Regions from separate parts of the Homo sapiens genome. Here region 2 is linked to region 1. Evidence: promoter capture Hi-C in 16 types of primary human blood cells and fetal thymus (Javierre and others, 2016). All regions are on one chromosome and are shown on one strand. The core of a region is centred on a gene start or on the middle of the fragment in contact, and the rest is flanking DNA. Distances in the headings are between cores, read along the strand shown.

Region 1 (2,764 bases), core at 93-2,592:
GGCTCACAAAGCCCTATATGCTCTGGTTCCTGCTTCCTCTCTGGCCTCTTGTTATACCACTCTCCCCAGCTTCCCTGGCCTTTCCTGTGTTCCTAAATTGTCAAGGTCATTTCCCCCAGGTTCTTTGCATGAACTGTGAAAAGAAAAAATTTAACTTTTAATTGGTGATTTGACTTTTTTTTGCCAAATTTGTTAAATCTGACTTTTATTTGCAACTCTAGAATCGGGCAACACTTCATTCTATAAAATGGAATGAGTGTTCAAATGAGCTGAGCAGAGGAGATTGGTTTTACAGCCAGAAAAGGGCTGAGGAAAGCAGAAACAGAAAACAAAAAGATTGGTTGTTTCAAAGTTACTTTCCTTGTAACTTTGAAGGCTAAAGCAGAGGGGACTTCCTTATCCTGCCAGCTAAAACAGGATGGTTTGGAGATCTAGCTATCTCTCACTCTTCTGATTTATCGGAATATCAGATAAACAACTTAGTTTCCACTTGGTGATGTAGAACTTTAGCATGAGTGACTCCATTTTGGTTCTGTTGGGCTTGGTGCAGGAGCCCTGTTCAAACCAATGGCCTCCAATTTTTTTTTTTTTTTGAGACGGAGTCTTGCTCTGTTGCCCAGGCTGGAATGAAGTGTTACTTTCTGAGCTCACTGCAGCCTCCACTTCCTGGATTCAAGCAATTCTCCTGCCTCAGCCTCCCAAGTAGGTGGGACCAGAGGTGTACGCCACCACGGTGGGCTAATTTTTTCTATTTTTTGTAGAGACAGGGTCTCCCCATTGTTGCCCAGACTGGTCTCGAACTCCTGGGCTCCAGTGATCCTTCCGCCTTGTCCTCCAAAGTGCTGGGATTACAGGTGTGGGCCTCTGCACCCGGCCCTGCCTCCTATAAATTTTACTTAACAAACTGTTCCCGCTAATTGCAATGCTCCTCCCATAGTTTTCACAAGCTTGGCTTCATGTCACTAATCTCAACTCAAATGTCACCTTCTCAGGGCACCCCTGACAATCCAATAAAAGACCACCTTGTCACCATCACATCACACCTTTAATCTTCTGAAGAAATTTTTCCCTATTTTTCTTCTTTGTTTTCTTAAGACTCTCTCCCCTGCAGCGCCATCAGCTCAGGGAGCCACTTGATCTTGGTCACTGCTCCATGCCGGAGCCTGGGAAGGAGCCTGGCCCAGGTCGCCGGTTCAATGAATGCGTGCGGAATGAATGAACGACTCTAGTGAAAGAGACTCCAATGACGCAGGCCGGGATTTGCGGAGCACGAGCCCCGCGCCGCGAAGCATTCTGGGGATTGTAGTTTCTCCGTGACGCGGTGACTTGCAGAGCACTGACGCACTCTGCGCCCGGAGGACAGAGCGGCCCGGTCGCCGGCATGGTTTCTCCGTCCTGCTGCAGCCGGCGGGAGGCAGCCAGTCCAGGCGCCCGCTAGCTTCGGCGGCGACCCAGACGGGGAAAGCGGAAGGAATGTCGCGTGGTGGGTCCGGGTCGGCGGTGCAGGGAGCCCCGGGGCGGAATGCGGGGGATGCCAGGACCTCCGGAAGGAGGTGCCGGAGCCCAGGAAGCGTTTTCTTCCCCATTTACCGAGTATAGCTCCTTTCCCCAGACCCGCTCCCGCTGCTCTGAGTAAGCGGTGCTCATCCCGTTTTACCGGTAGCTTAGCTAGCTTGGAGAAGCTAAGTGGTTTGCTAAGTGATCGCCCTCCTAGGAGGTGGCAAAGCCTGTTCTAGAACCCGGGCCTGACTCGAGGTCCGGTGACTGCTCTTTGCAGTCGCAGCAGCAGCCCCATACCTTTGCTTGATCGCAGATTCATCAGGCTGCAGCCGGGTGGCTGGTCGTTAGGCCATGCCCAGGGACCTAGCTCCCAGGCCCCCTCGTCACTGGCCTAGTCTGGCTTGCCACGCTCAGTGCCACAATGCACAGCCCTGGACGGGATGCTGAGTGAGGTCGTAAAGAGAGAGCGTTCCACCCCCTTTAACTCAGGTCTGAAAATAAGGGATAGGTAAGACATAGTGCACTAATACATTATCAGGGCATGTTGAAATCAAAGGAGAGTACCTTTAGTGGAGTGTGATTCTGGTAGCTTTGTTTCTCCTGTAGTTTAATAAATGTGGAAACAGGTTCAGAGACATTAACTTTTCTAGGTTTTCATAATTAGGGGTGGAGTGGGGATTCCAACCTAGGTTTCTCTACCTTCAAAACCTATGTACCTTATATAATACCGGTTGGGGGTTTTTTTCCCCAATTCATTATCCAGATTTATTTTCTTTTTTTTTTTCTGAGAGTCTCGCTGTGTCACCCAGGCTGGTGTGCAGTGGCACAATCTTGGCTCACTGTAACCTCTGCCTCCTGGGTTCAAGCGATTCTCCTGCTTCAGCCTCCCAAGTAGCTGAGATTACAGGTGCGCCCATGCCCAGGTAATTTTTGTATTTTTGGTAGATACTGGGTTTCACCATGTTGGCCAGGCGGGTCTTGAACTCCTGACCTCAGGTGATCCACTCGCCTTGGCCTCCCAAAATCCTGGGATTACAGGCGTGAGCCCTTGCACCCGGCCTCATTACCTTAATTTCTACTTACATAACAGCTGCATGGTGTAGACCAATAGTTCCCAGAGTGTGGGCCCCTGACCAGCAGCATCAGCATCACCTGGGAACATGTTCAAAATGACTTTATCTCTGGGCCTCACCTCAGACCTGAGTCAAACTGGGAGTGGGGCCCAGCAAGCTGAGTTAACAAGCCCCTCAGATGATTCTGATAC
Region 2 (2,764 bases), core at 174-2,673, 120 kb after region 1:
AATTCATCTAAGACAAGGATTCTAGATACTCATCTGAAATAAACAGCAGGGGTTCCAAGTGTCAAACATGACAAATCATCTCCTTGCTAATGTACTTGTGGGAAAAAGAATGAAAATGTACAAAGATTCCTCTTCAGCACACCAATTTAAATACACCAATATTTCCCAAACTCACATATAGAAACTTGTTATTTACTGAAAGCTTCTTATCTATCCACAAAAGAAAGTTTAAACACTTTTAAAGAATGAAAAATCCAACTCACAACACACCAAGAGAGGAAAGACGCTGGAGGTTTGGCATCCTATTCCAAGACATAATTAAAATAGGGAAATCCACCTGAAGGTGTGAAAACTGACTGAATTAGGAAATACTGGCAATAAATTCAAAAGAACTGTGCTCATATTCAGTAAGATAAAGTGATGTTTTCAATAGCGATTTTTAAAAAGTTTTAAGATACATTTACTAAACAGATGCAGCTTGTTAGTAATTGGCACATTGTATACAAATTACTCCTGATAAGTTTCTGTAAGTTTATTTTAGTGAGTTGAAGCTTCTTTTCCTTGCCATGTTGTTCATATTATTAATCCTCTTAGCTATCCTTTCTTTGCAGTGATGCACATAAACTTTGGTTCAAGCCTTCAAAAATAATTTGGTGAAAAATAATCAGCTATAGAGATTTGAAGCAAGCAGCTCAAATAAAAATAAAATGTTCTTTCTTCCAAAGTGGGTGGGAAATACTATGTGCTGGCAGAGGAAAGGAATCAGGCAATCAGCATGGCAGTCAAAGCTGATCTGGATTTGTAGTTTAAAGAGACCTGGAATATCTTATAGCCCAACCCTGCACCTCAAGCCAACCCCCCAGTCCATTTGACACTCACAGGAAAAGTCTAACAAAAGATCTTCAAACATCCACATCGACTGATGCAATGATTATCTCAATATACAAAGTCACACCCCCTTACCTCAGCCTGCGCTTCCTTGAACGAGAGAGAGATCGGCTTCGGGACCGAGACTTCGAAAATGAACGAGAACGAGATCTTGATGCAGATCTTGAGCGAGAAGAGCGAGATCCAGACTTGGATTTGTTTGTTTTTGACATCTCTGAAGAGAGGATCACTTTTCAATTACACCTAATGTAAGAAAATGCATTAGAACAAATGAGTGAGTTCCTTTGCAAATGTGAACCTCTTTGGACATTTTAGAAACACATTTCTTTTAATCTGGGCAACTTGAGAAGACCCCATATCTACAAAAAAAAAAAAAAAATTTTTTTTTAATTAGCCAGTCACAGTGGTGCGTTCCTGTAGTCCTAGCTATTTGAGAGGCTAAGACAGGAGGGAGTGCAAAGTTACAGTGAGCTGTGATCACACCTCTGCACTGCAGCTCTGGAGGAAAGAGCAATACCCTATCTCCAAAAAAAAAAAAAAGAGAGAAAGTGGCTGAGCACGGTGGCTCACGCCTGTAATCCCAGTGCACTGGGAGGCCAAGGTAGGAGGAGGACTGCTTAAGTCCAGGTGTTCAAGACTAGCCTGGGCAACATAGCAATATCCCGTGTCTACAAAGTTAAAAAAAAAATTTTTTTTTTCTTGAGATAGGAGTTTTGCTTTTGTTGCCCAGGCTAGAGTGCAATGGCTTAATCTCAGCTCACCACAACCTCCGCCTCCCGGGTTCAAGCAATTCTCCTGCCTCAGCCTCCCAAGTAGCTGGGATTACAAGCATGGGCCACCATGCCCGGCTAATTTTTTTGTATTTTTAGTAGAGACAGGGTTTCTCCTTGTTGGTAAGGCTGGTCTCGAACTCCCGACCTCAGGTAATCTGCCCGGCTCGGCCTCCCAAAGTGCTGGGATTACAGGCGTGAGCCACCGTGCCTGGCCTACAAAGTAAAAACTTTTAAAATTAGCTGGATGTAGTGGTAAGGGCCTGTAGTCCTAGCTACTCCAGAGGCTAAGGTGGGAATGGCCTGAGGCCAGGATTTTGAGACCAGCCTAAGCAACATAGGAAGATTCCCCCACCTCTACAAAAAAAACAACTGTTTAAATAAAATAAACTTTAAAAACAGAAAGTAACATTAAAAAAAAAAAAAAGATGAAATGACTGATTTTTAAAAACCACTCTGCTCTTTCATCAAAAGGAATTTCTTAGTAGTACAAATCCCAAACAGACCAAGCCACAGCAGCAAATGGAAAACCTGACATGTAACCCTAACTGGGTAATACTGTAAGAGATGACCAAGAATGAGGGTGCTTATTAATTTTGGTGCATGCAGTCTTTTCTCAGTAAGCAAAGAAGCTTTGAGACTAAAGTCAGCTGTTAATAAAAGTAATGAGGAGATGTGAGACAGGTTTCCTAGTTCCAAGAGAAGAAACCGCATGCAATTTAACTTAGTTACAGAGTATGTGGCACATCTAGTCATAAAGAACCATCAATTTGTTCCAGCTCTTTATTACAAAAGAGTCAGCTGGGGGCGGTGGCTCACGCCTGTAATCCCAGCACTTTGGGAGGCTGAGGTGGGCTGATCACCTGAGATCAGGAGTTCAAGACCAGCGTGGCCAACATGGTGAAACCCCATCTCTACTAAAAGTAGTGGCGGGTGCCTGTAATCCCAGCTACTCAGGAAGCTGAGACAGGAGAATCTCTCGAACCCAGGAGGCAGAGGTTACAGCGAGCCAAGATCGCGCCATTGCACTCCAGCCTGGACGACAAGAGCAAAACTCCGTCTCAAAAAAAAAAATAAATAAAAATAAAGAGTCAACTTTCTTTCAG

The links. Contacts are between HindIII fragments. The CHiCAGO score rates a contact against its expected background, and 5 or more counts as called.
Region 2: a contact is called between a fragment that was not itself captured here and the fragment with the promoter of LSM10 in region 1, in 2 of 17 cell types (neutrophils and naive B cells). The highest score is 5.8, in neutrophils.

Annotation. Positions count from the first base shown.
Region 1 is chr1:36,396,486-36,399,249 of GRCh38, reverse strand. LSM10 (LSM10, U7 small nuclear RNA associated) reads left to right here and starts at 1,342. Exons shown (of 2, transcript NM_032881.3): 1 at 1,342-1,483. RefSeq lists enhancers at 773-1,484, 1,485-2,197. The HindIII fragment of the contact is 5,014 bases long and covers 950-2,764 here.
Region 2 is chr1:36,280,900-36,283,663 of GRCh38, reverse strand. It overlaps THRAP3 (thyroid hormone receptor associated protein 3), which reads right to left. Exons shown (of 12, transcript NM_005119.4): 3 at 964-1,131. The coding sequence starts at 1,100. Among named protein-coding and RNA genes, the nearest start is that of SH3D21, 24 kb to the left of the region's middle. The HindIII fragment of the contact is 1,739 bases long and covers 554-2,292 here.